Regions from separate parts of the Homo sapiens genome. Here region 2 is linked to region 1. The links are contacts of gene promoters, found by promoter capture Hi-C in blood cells and fetal thymus (Javierre and others, 2016). All regions are on one chromosome and are shown on one strand. Each heading gives the region's core, a stretch centred on a gene start or on the middle of the fragment in contact. The rest is flanking DNA. Distances are from core to core; before and after follow the strand shown.

Region 1 (6,647 bases), core at 654-3,153:
GCCTGGCCAGCATGGGGAAACCCCGTCTCTAGTAAAAATACAAAAATTAGCTGGGCGTCGTGGCGGGCCCCTGTAATCCCAGCTGCTCGGGAGGCTGAGGCAGGAGAATCGCTTGAACCCGGGAGGTGGAGGTTGCAGTGAGCCGAGAGCTGCCACTGCACTCCAGCCTGGGCAACAGAGCGAGACTCTGTCTCGAAGAAAAAAAAAACTAGTGGCAAAAATAAACAGTTTGGCATTATAACTCCCGAAGCTCTGCTTCTAAGTAAATACAGAGACCAATGCTTTGCATGATATCCAGGATGGTAGCCATTCATGATTATTAATACGACACACATATGATTAGGGTGCCCACAAAACACACACACATACACAAACACAAGTTCAGCTTTCATGACCTTATCTGGAACTCCGCAAACAGAAAATTTAGCAAAACACATCAGCTTTGTAGTTTCTTGCAAAAATGTTGAACCCAAATCTAATAATGAAGAAACATTCAGACAGAGATAGAGACTGTGATATAGTCCACAAAATAACTGGCCCCAATGCTTCAAAATATTAGTGTCATGAAAGACTAACAACAAAAATCAGAGAAGTGTTCCAGATCACAGGAGGCTAAAGAGACCACATGCAATGTATGATCCTTGATTACAACCCTAATTTTTAAAAGAAGCTTGAAAGGGCATACGTTACTGGCATAATTAGAAAATTTGAATATGAACTGTATGGTACATGATATTGTATCAAGGTCAAATTTCTTGGGTGTGGGAATGATGTTGTAGTCACCTAGGAAAATGCACTTCTTCTTAAGAAATAAATAGTCACGCCTGTAATCCCAGCACTTTGGGAGGCTGAGGCCGGCACATTGCTTGAGCTCAGGAGTTCCAGACCAGCCTGGCCCAACATGGCGAAACACCATCTCTAGAAAAAAATAAAAACACAAGACAAAAACCCAAAAATTACCTGGGTGTAGTGGCACATGCCTGTAATTCCAGCTACTCGGGAGGCTAAGGCAAGAGAATCGCTTGAACCCAGGAGGCGGAGGTTGCAGTGAGCTGAGATTGCCTGCTGCACTCCAGCCTGGGAGACAGAATGAGACTTTGTCTCACGAACACAAAAAAAGACATAAATATTGAAGAATGTAGGGGTAAAGATTTGAGGTTTTTCCAAATAAGAAGTTAGATAATTTTTTCTTTATTTTTTGAGATGGAGTCTCACTCTATCACCCAGGCTGGAGTGCAGTGGTACAGTCCTGGCTCACTGCAACCTCCGCCTCCTGGGTTCAAGCGATTCTCCTGCCTCAGCCTCCCAAGTAGCAGGAATTACAGACCTGCACCCCCACGCCCGGCTAATTTTTGTATTTTTAGTAGAGACGGGGTTTTGCCATGTTGACCAGTCTAGTCTCCAACTCCTGAGGTCAAGTGATTCACCCTCCTTGGCATCCCAGAGTGCTGGGATTACAGATGTGAACCACTGCGCCCAGCCGAGTTTTTTTCAATCTAGAAGTTTGTCTTCAACTTATTTGTAAACACTGTCACTTTGAAAAATAAAATTTGATTGGGAATTACACATGGGGAGGCACCCTACTAGTCTTTTCAGTGTTTAGAGCCTCTAAAGGCCTCAGTCCAGCCAGGGTGTAGGAGGAAGAGGGGAGATAAGACATCCAGGAATAACCACATACAGGTGGCATGAGTAGGATTTAGGCGAGTAACTGAAACGGCTTCCAAGGGCTAAGGGATGAGAAATCAGTCCTGTTTGGAGTGATCAGAGAAGTCTTTGTGGAAGAATTAGCACTTATTCTGGGCCTGAGATGGGGACTGTGGGAACCACCTCCAAAAGCGAGTAACCACGTCTTAATTCCAGCCCATGGTCGCTGAGTGGGCAGATGGGCCCATCTGTGGCCAGATATTCCCACTTTTCAAAATAAACTCGAAATCTGGATCTTAATGTAAAATCTATTTTTAAATGATGACATTAAAAGTAAAAACAAAAACAAAAACAAACAAACAACAAAAACAAACAAACAAAAAAAACGGCTGGGTGCGGTGGCTCACACCTGTAATCCCAGCACTTTGGAAGGCCAATGCGAGCAGATCACCTGAGGTCAGGATTCCCAGACCAGCCTGGCCAACATGGTGAAGCTCCATCTCTACTAAAAAATACAAAAATTAGCTGGGCGTGGTGGCACGCGCCTGTAATCCTAGGTACTAGGAGGCGGAGGCAGGAGGATCACTTGAACCTGGGAGGCCGAGGTTGTGGTGAGCTGAGATCGTGCTATTGCACTCCAGCCTGGGCAACAAGAGCAAAACTCTGTCTCAAAAACAAACAAACAAAAAAAAGCAAATAAAAAAAGAAAAAACATGGTGCAGGGCAGTGTTCAAATTTCCAAATTGCCTCATTTAAAAAATCTTTGAATAAAAATTCAAACAAGGTCCATACATTGCATTATTTGATATGCCTTTTAATCTGTAGATATAACTTCTTTCTCTCTAACATCATTGGTAGATTACTGTGAGATTTAGTATTCATTTAGTAGGTAAATTATTCAATTAATCTTTTATTAACCACCTACTCTGTGACTAGCAGTGTGGGGACAAATACATATGGAAGGAAGCCCTGCCCTCTAGGGTCCCCAATCTCATTGACTCTAAACTAATGACTTACATCAGGGTCCCTTTAGATGTTTCCTTGGGGCTACAGAAGCTCACCAAGGAGCTCCCACGAGACTGTACATTTCTGAGAAAAAAATATTGGAACTGAAAGCTATCAGCTTGGGGACAGTGGAGTTTATTCTGGAGCCAAAACAGACTCAGAGCTGGGAAAGAACCCAGGCGGCTCCTCTCCTCTCCTCTCCTCCCCGTATTTGGAAAGCATGTGTTCCCCAGCGAGCAGAGAAGAACTGGAATCCTGCTCGCTTTTTCTTCCTTCTAGGCTATTTTTTCCCCTTAAACCTTACACCCTTGGGAAAAACATTCAGAAACCACAGTCATAACAGGTCTAGAAATTGCCACATTTGTTTCTATTAAAAGATGAAGTTTTTTAAAAAATTGAACTTACATATAATAAACATTTAGTGAGCTTACCAATCTAGCGAATTTGCATGCAAACTGCCACCACCACAGTCCTGTACTATGAGTTTTAAGCTTACCAGCCATGCGATGGCTTTTTCTCTCCATTCTTAACGACCTGTTAGATTCCTTGTCATATACACAGTTGAGACAAGGCTCTGGTTTTGTGTTCTTTCTCCTCTCGTCGCTCACTCTTGTCCTGCATCTGTTGTAGCTTGACTGTGATGCCCGGGAAGAGTGATGTTTCCTTCTGGACTCATCTCTTGCCAAATCTACTCACATTTTCCTTCCTTTTCCCACATCTGCGCTTTCTTCCCTCCTAAGTTACAGACTTACCTCGGGGGCTGGTCATGTCTCACTTGGTTGATGGCAGCCTTCTCAGCTCTGGAATTCCCACTGCAGCACTGCTCCCCCACCAACAACTGACACTTCAGTACCCCTCCTTCCTGTGGCACAGAGGACCAGGGTGACCCTGCTGTCTAATTTCAACAGGCTGCTCTGTACCATTTCCTTTTAGGTCTTCCCTGGGGTGGAGGCGCTGATTTTCATAGCCTGAGCTCACCAGGGAGGGGGCAGTGAACTTCTGAGGAGAGGAAAAAGAGGCTCCCACTGCCATTTCCCTCCAAAGTGGGAATGTAGACGAACCTCAGAGAGGAAGGGTGTGGCAGTGGGGGCAATTTGCTTGGAGTAGTACATAAGCCGAGGAAACTGCCTGGTTGATAGTAAGAGCCATCATTTGCCGGTTGCCTACTCAGTGGGAGGCCCAGTGCAAAAGGGTCGACATGGATTATTTCGTGTAATCTTCACCACAACTTTATGAGCTAGCTTCTATTCCCATCCTCATTTTACAGATGAGGAAGCAGGCCCAGGGAGGTTAACTAACCTGCCCAGATGGGAAGTCGCAGAGTTGAGATTCAAGCCCACATGTATCTGACTCCAGAGCTCGTCCGCCTTCCACTGGGCCTCCCAATTTCTTTTTCCTTTATTTTCTGAGATGGAGTCTCGCTCTGTCACCCAGGCTGGAGTGCAGTGGTGCAATCGTGGCTCACTGCAACCTGCATCTCCCGACTTCAAGCGATTGTCTTGCCTCAGCCTCCTCAGTAGCTGGGACTACATGCGTGCCCCACCACACCCAATTTTTTTTTTTTTTTTTTGGTATTTTTCATAGAGACGGGGTTTCACCATGTTGCCCAGGCTGGTCAAACTCCTTACCTCAAATGATCCACCCGCCTTGCCCTCCCAAGTTGCTGGGATTACAGGTGTGAGTCACTGTGCCTGGTTCCTCCCAATTTCCAGTTGACAAGCCCTTGGACACTATTAATTCCTCACCCTTGTCTTCCACTTCTTCCTTGATCCAATCCTCACACTCTGGCTACAGAGCCTTTTGAAAGTTACACTTTCTAATTGGTAAGGTCTCCCACAACTACATCTCCTAACATGAGTGTTGGTACAGCTGTCTGTTAAGCCTCTAATGAAATCGACTCAAACTATTGAAGAAGAAAGCATTGAAAATGGGTGTTTAGTTGATGGTTACAATAAAAGCCCAGACACTTCACCACTACAAAACTGCACTTGTACCCCTTAAAGTTATACAGATTAAAAAAAATGGGTGTTTAATGTATATCTTGCAAGGGAGATAGATATGACTCCTTTTAAGCAGGCTTCCTTCTAGAAAGGCTCAGAAGAGTCAATAAATGCTGAGTACATGGGACTGATTTCAAAATACATGTATAAAGGAAGATGTGCCACATTTATCATGCTGTGTATCCTGTAAAGAATATTTATGGAATGAATAAAAGAGAGTACTAGAAGCCCCCTGGGTACTGAAGGAGGAAGAAATGAAAATGCTTTGGATGGCCACCCCAGTGTTGAAAAGATCTAGACTTAAAATTATTAAAGGGCAAGAAAATGTCCTCATTTTTTTTTCTTGACTTCAAATAAAGTACAGCAAACATGGGCTGTGCCTCCTCATTCCAAATACAGGCCTGCAATATAAGGGAAGCTTCAGAGGATGCCAAAAAGCAGAAAGTATCAAGGGATGCCCTTTAAAGACACTTTGGAATTTCTAATAGAGCTAAAAATTGGTAAAATCCAGATAGGAAAAAATGAGAAGAAAATAGGAGTTAACATAGATTTCTGGGCCCCATTCCCAGAGTTTCTGATTCTATAAGTGTTATTATTTATATGACATCCATTCCTGAGTATACTGAACAATGTCTTGTGTGATGACAATTACTGCTGAGTATTTAATACCATTACACTTTGATAATGGAAAATATTAGAGATTCTAATACAGATCTAGTATTGTGTACATTGTGGAATATATATATGTATATATATGTATATGTATACGTATATGTGTGTGTATATATACATATATTTTTTTTAACTCAGAGCAGGCAGATGCTTTGCCCTGGGTTACATTGAAAGCCAAGGTAGCACCATGACATTACCAGCGAGCATGACAAGGCAGGGAAGCACATCACAATACAGACAGGTGGAGGTGGTGGTGTACGTCACCTATAGGGAGATGCAGCAGAGATGCCTGATGGCATTTCATATCACAATGCACTGTGCCAGAGTCTGATACAACGCACTGCATACACGATTTTCTCTTTTCCCCACAAAGGACAGTACACGCACAAAGCCAACTACATTTTAAAATGAGCTAGCTAGATGAATGAAGGAGAAGTAAAAACATCCAGATCACACACAGAAAGTGAGACACAGAAGAAACTCTTCTCCTATAAACTGAGAGAGATGTTTCCCCGGGAAAATTGGTCAGATTCAGAGTAGACCATGTCCCCTCATCCACTGCACTCAGCCCCCAGTTTTTCATGCTGCAAACTCAGATGTCTCTGTGGCAGAGGGAATGGTTTGTTGCTTTGAGTGTTGATCTAGACATCTGGAAGCTCTGTGGCTGGGAGGAATCTCATCCATACTTATGTATTGTACTTCATTAATCATCAAGTCCTATCTGGGGCTACATGGTGTTCTAAAGTCTTAGATTATAAACACTTTGAGATTCAACCTGAAGGCATTTTCACTGGTTAAAAATCTGTTCTTGCTGTGGTTCTTCTTGAGAGAATGTCCCTTTGCAAAACTCAGTTGTCAATGGGCTGATACAGTTGTGTAGCTGAAAGCCTTCACTGTAAACCTCATTGTTTTTTTCATGGCCAGTTCACAGCCCTATTTAAAGAATGTGTACTTTGGGAGAAAAAGGGCCTGAGAATATAAAGGGACCTGTGTGGGCAATCTCCAGGGCATGTGGGTCTATTGGCATGCACGCATGGGTAGCCAAGAGTCAAAGCAAGTTTTGCCAATGGATTCCCATCATCTTTGCATGCAGGTCAGGTGAAGGACTCAGCAAAAACAGAGCAAAAGTTCTGAGGCTCAGGTTAACCCAACAGCAAACACTTCAAGGCCCACAAGGAGAGTATTCAGGAAGAGACTTGAGGTAGATGAGGAGAAGAAAAAAAGTGCAGGTTATCCCTGAGGCCAATGGGTAAATAGACCATTTTCCTCTGTTCTCATGAAAGACACATACACTTGGATTTTGCTTTTCTTTAGTTTCCAGATGTT
Region 2 (6,647 bases), core at 2,282-4,781, 270 kb before region 1:
TTGCAATCCACAGTCTCTTTTGCAACTGCTCAACTCTGCCCTTGTAGTGCTAAAGCAGCCATAGACAATAAGTAAAGGAATGGACATGGCCATGTCCAATAAACCATTATTGATGGACACAGAAATTTGAATTTCATATCACTTTCACATGTCACAAAATATTCTTTAATTCTTTTTTTCTCAGCCCTTAAAACGTGAAAAACATTCTTAGTTTCAAGACATACAAAAACAGATAGCAGGCTGGATTTGGCCCTCAGACTGTAGTCTGATTTTTGATAATCCCTGGACTATCCCTGCACTCCCTGGATGGGAGTGCAGAGAATGCAGACAATTCCTTTGAGAAGCTTATCTATGAAGAGGAAAGGAGAGATAGTACAGTAGCTGGAGGGGTGTGGATGAAAAGGTGTTTCTCAGAGGAGACCTGAAAATGTTCATGGAGAGCAGAAAGAGATGATAGAGAAGGAGCCACTGAAGATGGTGGAGGTGGAGGGCGGGGGTTGGGGGGGGCGGTGATTGTTGGAGTAGATCCTGGAAGAAGAGGAAAGGAAGTGATGACATGCAGAGTACAGTTTGGTCAATTCGCTTTTTTTTTTTTTTTGAGACAAAGTCTCACTCTGTCACCCAGTCTGGCCCAATATCAGCTCACTGCAACCTCCATCTCCTGGACTCAAGCCCTTTTCCTTCCTCAGCCTCCTCAGTAGCTGGTGCTACAGGCACGCGCCACCATGCCCGGCTAATTTCTGTTAATTTTGTAGAGACAGGGTTTCACTATGTTGCCCAGGCTGGTCTTGAACTCCTGGGCTCAAGTGATTCTCCCGCCTTGGCCTCCCAAATTGCTGAGATCAAAGGCGTAAGCCACCATGCCTGGCCAATTAGCTTCTTAAGGGAGAAGGAAACACTTCTTCCACTGTGGCTGGGGGGAGAAAGAAAGGATGGGCACTGATGGGATATTTAAGTAGATAGCAGGGTAGGATTTTCCCAGAATGCCTTGACTTTCTCAGTGACAAAAGAAGCAAGGCTGGATTCCTGGTGAGTTGTCTATATGAGCAGTGAAGTCACTCAGGATGATGTCAGGCCTGGGGAGTGGGGTGAGAGGAGAGAGGAAGCCTGTGAAACAGATTCCCTAGTACTCAGCAAATGTGTAGGAGTGACCAGGAAGTCAATAAGTGAGGACCATGGGGAAGGAGAAGGTGTTAGAGCTTCAATGGAGGGTGGAGGGGTAATGAGTTTGAAACAATGTGAAACAATGGGAGTGAGCACAGTGCCAACTCCTTCAGGCCACCTGATGCAGGGTGTGAGTTGTGTATACGTGTGTATATGTGTGCAGGACAGTGGGGCTGTGACCAAATGAACATGAACAACCTCCACTTGCAATAGCGTCAGAGCGTGTGATATCCTGGGAGAGACATGGGTTCTGGTAATGAGAGGAGATGGAGGGGCCATCCATGCAGTGACTGAGAGGGTTGAGTAGTATGTTTACAAGGAAGAACGTTCCAAGGAGCACACCGACTAACATGGAAAGGGAGGGAAGTAGCAAGAGGAGAAACCCGGGTGTAGGCGTCAGAAGTATAGAGCAGTGCTGGATGGAGAGAGAAGTACATTCTCGGGGGAGCAGAAGCCTCAGGGGGATTGGCTGCCTGGTAGAAGTTACTACCATTTCAAGATTCCTCCTAGAACTCGAGTACAAAGAGATTGCTGAGGGGCATACTAAGTTGCTGGGGCCACATAAACAGAGGTGGAGTCTGGTGCTTGAAGACATTTCCTGACTCTGGTCAGGGAAGCAATCTGTGGCTTCGGGTTTTTTTTTTTTTTTTTCAAGTTCCCAACACTCAGTGAAAAGTGGGTTTATGCTGGGACAAAACAGCCTTGGAATGAGCAGTTAGCAGGTAAGCTCATTTACTAGGTCTTCTGGGGAGAGGATGATGGGGAGAATGGGAAGGATCCTCACCTAGGTTTCTTGCTTCCACAAAGCCCAGCTCTGTGTGAACAGGACAGTGTGGTTCAAGTGGAGTCAGGGTATAGGGGAACAGGCAGCCATGAGGTTTCTTGGGAAGACACAGACCCAAGTACTAATAGCAGAGAATGGGCACACAGTCACTGGCTCTGATTTGGGACAGTTCCTGACCTGACAGGGACAGAAAGTGGAATTGGACATCGTTTGAGTGCTTTTTTTGTTTAGCTCATCATCCTGAGAGCTTAGAGAGCTGGTTAGTGAGGGTGAATACACACAGGGGCAGCTTGGAGTTGCCTGAGTATTACTTGTTTTAGCAAGGAGGTTATATGGCCATGAGATGGAAAGAACCATTTGAGAATCATGAGTTCCAGGCAGAATGATAGGAATTGAACTGACAGTGGTACCACTGATGGTATGAAGAATTTGAGAAGGAATTTGTACTTGCAGGGGGAACTCATTTCAAATGAGCTCATTTCAAAATATTTTTAGTTTTGAGGGTGGTAGGAGCCTCAACAGGGTATGCTCAGAATCCAACAGGTAGAGGCCTGAAGTTGGGGCAGCAGGCCAGGGCTTGAGACTTGTAGATCATTCATGTTGAAATCAAAGTCTTGAGAAAACAAAGAGCCCACACAAACTAAGGAGCGATCGGAGAAATACAGAAAAAATAGGAAGTCACTGTTCTCAAAAGACAAAGCTCCAGTATGGAGGTGAGAACTGTGAAAATTCTGGTGAGAGAGGTTGGACAGGCTGAGAACAGAAAAAAAATACTGTCCTGAGGAATACTAAAGAGGAGAGATGAGAGATAGGGGTCAAGGGTGACTTCGGAGCTGGGGACATTTGCTTTAAAACAGCAGTAAAAAGGAGCAAGAGGAGAAGGAGAAATCCACCACACCACCCAAGATTTTTTCTTCGGGAGGGAAGTGTTTACGAGCATTGGGAAATCTAAGCACAAACCGATCCAATCTTTGCTGTAAGGTTGATGAGTTTCTGTGTACAGATTCCTAGCGTGAGAGATGACTTATATCAGATGTTTACATGTAAAGAAAACCGACTACACAGACACACACATAATCCATACCTTTGAGTCGATTGTTTTATGAACTGCTACAGTGCTCTGTGTGTGTGTGGTGTTTTTTTGTGTTTTTTTTTTTTTCTTTCCCGATGAGGACAATACAAGGAGAATCCGATTTAAATTTAAATTACAGAGATGGAGATTGAGGCTCCTCCCAAGGGGACAACTTATCCTGTTAAGAGACACTGGGGGACGATATTGAGATGGGTTATGAAAGATCAATTCCTATGAAAGATCAATTCCCCTGAGAGCTCTGAGAATAGGATCAAAGTAGAAAGCGCAGTCTGCCTCTGCTTGGTTACACTGAGCCGATGTTTCTTTAGCCAAAGGCAGTGGGCTAGTTTAGACGGCCTTTCATTCCCGGCAGCGCCTGTGGGTGCGTGTGACCTGGGACAGAGGGGCAAAGGAACCTGGCAGAGCGAGCTTGGGATGCCGCGGCCCCTTTAAGAGCGGCGGCGGCGGCGCGCGCTCCGACGGCTACCCCCGGGCCCCGCCCCTTTCCCGTGAGCCCTCGGGGAGTGGTCCGACCGCGGGCGGCCGCCGGTGAGGTAGGGGCGGGAGGCGGGGGGAGACATGGCTCGGCGCGGCTGGCGGCGGGCACCCCTCCGCCGTGGCGTCGGCAGCAGTCCCCGAGCCCGCAGGCTCATGCGGCCCCTTTGGTTGCTCCTCGCAGTGGGCGTCTTTGACTGGGCAGGGGCTTCGGACGGCGGCGGCGGAGAGGCTAGAGCCATGGACGAGGAGATCGTGTCCGAGAAGCAAGCCGAGGAGAGCCACCGGCAGGACAGCGCCAACCTGCTCATCTTCATCCTGCTGCTCACCCTCACCATTCTCACAATCTGGCTCTTCAAGCACCGCCGGGCCCGCTTCCTGCACGAAACCGGCCTGGCTATGATTTATGGCAAGTTCCTCAACCCTTGTCAGCCCCTTGGCGCTGCCCCTTTCTCTGCCCGCCGGCTGCTTCGCCTCCTCTGCTGGCCCTGCTCGGCCTACGTTCGGCTCCCCTTCTAATTCCTTCCATTTTCTGCCTCGCCTTCCCCCTACCCCGCGTTTCTCTGCCTCACCCCCTTTCCTCTTCAGCCTCGCGCCCCATTTTATCTGCCTCTCCACACCTTTTTCGCTTCCGACCCCACCCCCTTTTTCCTCCGCACCCCCAGCCCCCCACCCTTTCCCTGCCTACCAAGCTCGGGACCCGGGGCTGAGGATGGAAAACGAGTGGGCGCGGTGTCTGGAATTGGGCTGGGGGCTGGGGGAGGGGAGACACCATTGCGATCCATTTCTCTGGGGTGTCAGTTTGTTTAAGGTTCATTGAAACTGCAGTAGTATCTCTACTGCCCAGAATCTGGCGTTCTTTTGGAGCCAGAGTCGACCTTTACTCAACACCTAGCTCCTGCTACGCCCTGTCCTTTCGAGGTTGCAAAGGAAAATCTTATTCTTGTGGAGTCCGAAAAAAAAAACCCGAACGTGAAATAGGCTACAGAAGGCTTAGGGCATTTTTAATGACATCCCATTTATTGTACTATGCCTCTAATATCTGATATGGATACCTGTGGTTGACCCTTCCAATTCAGGCATACAAAAGTGAGGACGAGGAAGAGTTAAGGTCCTTCCAGAAGTATAGTGTACTATACGATGATCAGGACAGTTCAGACAAACAGTAATTACAAACACCATGCATATGCAGTATGGGTGACTTGCTGTTGGCATGAGGTTATTGACCGATTGTAGAATAAATGGCTTCGATTCTTGTGTCTCAGTCTGCTTTCTGAGGTTTATTATTATTATTATTATTATTATTTTGGTGACAAGGCGAGAAGGGGTAAATCAAAGTGTGGGCTCAGAGGCATTTTGAGCTGTGCTGGGGCCTCAAGAGGAGAAAAGATACATATTGCCGACTGTATTAATCTGTGCGGGTATTGCTAAAGAGATGAGGGCGGACAAACAATTCTTTCTGTGCAGTACATGTGTGAAGATTATCTTCATTTGGAGCAGTTAAACCGATGAGCTTGTTGAGGTTTGTCTCTCAGACTTGCAGATAGGTAGATGAAGCTTTGGCACAAAAGACATTGCTCCATGCAAACCCCCGCCCCCTAGTAAATCCAGACTTCTGTAATGTGCATCTCTCAAGGATAGCAAGGAAAGGTAGTTGTGTGCCTCAGGAAGATGCATGAACTCAGGCTTATTTTTCATTTTTAAGAGAATACAGTTCTGAGCCTGCGTGTAAAATATCTCTGCTCACTAAGATTCCTAGTTTTTAGACATATTAGATGGTTTTTATATTTAATATGTTTTGCATTTCATTTGCAGTGCACCTTAAGCCAAATTGGCCAGATAAGCTATATATTTCTATATAATTTTCTGCATAACAGTGTGTGATTTATTTACTATCCTCAACAAACATTTGTTGATAAACCTTCTATGTATTATGCTCAGAAAATACAAAGAGGTATAAGATCTTTGCCTTCAAGTCACTTATAGGCAGGTCATATAAAGAAAATAATGGCATCTTAAATTTGGTTAAATGCCAAATGAGTATTATAAAGTAATGAACTGATCAGAGATACTTCTTTTATAGAGAGAGATAGTATGATGTGGTAATTAAAGGTACAAGGCTTTAGACCAGAGGTCAGCAATTTTTTTTTTTTTCTGTAAAGGGCCAGGTAGTAATGATTGTTGATCTTGTGGATACGTAGATCTCTGTCGCTGTTGCATTTTTTTTCTTTGATTTTTTTTTCTTTTTATAAAGTTTTACAACATAAAAACTATTCTTAGCTCTCGGGCCATACAAAAACAGACCAAGGGCTGTAGTTTGCCAACCCCTGCTTTAGAATCAGACCTAGATTCCCGTCACACTCTGCCCATAGGTATGTGTGATCTTAGACAAGTCCCTTACTCTCTTTTACCATCATCTATATGTTAGGGATGATGATAGTAGGATTACTGTGAGGAAGAAATGTTTTTAGACTAGTAACTGACCCTTAAGTAAATGCCCAAGAAATGATAGCTGTGCTATTATTATTATTATTGCTGTTACAACTGCATTTTCTCAGATTAGGCCCAGAACAACTCTTTTAATTGGTCAGTCTCATAAGTCAAGGGACAAATACAGTCTTTTTAAGAGAATCAAATAGGGGCTTTGAATTGCCCTGGAAATATTTTCTCTTTGGTAGCTGGTATCATTAACCTCATCTAACTCTAGGACTGAAGTAGAAAAGGATTACCGATTGCATTTTGTGAGGTTTCTAAGTTAATAAAAAGTGATAGAGCACCTTGGTGTTAGTATTTTTTGAAGGAAAAACAAGGGTATCTCTTGTGGAATGTAAAGTGCAAGAGTGTTAGTCTGGGAGTCAAATCTGGAGTTGACTTGGCGTTCTTTAGCCTGTCCTATTTTCTCATTGTGGGCAATGGGTGCTGTGGACCAAACAGCCTCCTAACTTAACTCGCAAGTCCAGTTCGAGAATAGATGGGATTGGGTCAAAGTTTCTTTCTTTCTCTCTCTTTCTTTTCTTTCTTTCTTTCTTTCTCTCTCTTTTCTTTCTTTCTTTCTTTTCTTTCTTTCTTTCTTTCTTTCTTTTCTTTCTTTCTTTCTCTCTCTTTCTTTCTCTCTCTTTCTTTCTTTCTTTT

The links. The method cuts DNA at HindIII sites, captures the fragments that hold promoters and counts their contacts. A CHiCAGO score of 5 or more calls a contact.
Region 2: the fragment with the promoter of SLC9A6 here is called in contact with a fragment that was not itself captured in region 1 in 2 of 17 cell types (fetal thymus and naive B cells); the score reaches 6.7 in fetal thymus.

Annotation. Positions count from the first base shown.
Region 1 is chrX:136,252,903-136,259,549 of GRCh38, forward strand. It overlaps a transcript of MAP7D3 not described here. Among named protein-coding and RNA genes, the nearest start is that of MAP7D3, 4.8 kb to the left of the region's middle. The HindIII fragment of the contact is 2,470 bases long and covers 669-3,138 here.
Region 2 is chrX:135,981,904-135,988,550 of GRCh38, forward strand. It overlaps SLC9A6 (solute carrier family 9 member A6), which reads left to right and starts at 3,532. Exons shown (of 18, transcript NM_001379110.1): 1 at 3,532-3,574; 2 at 3,700-3,924. The coding sequence starts at 3,756. RefSeq lists a silencer at 3,423-3,662 and an enhancer at 3,813-3,932. The HindIII fragment of the contact is 4,728 bases long and covers 343-5,070 here.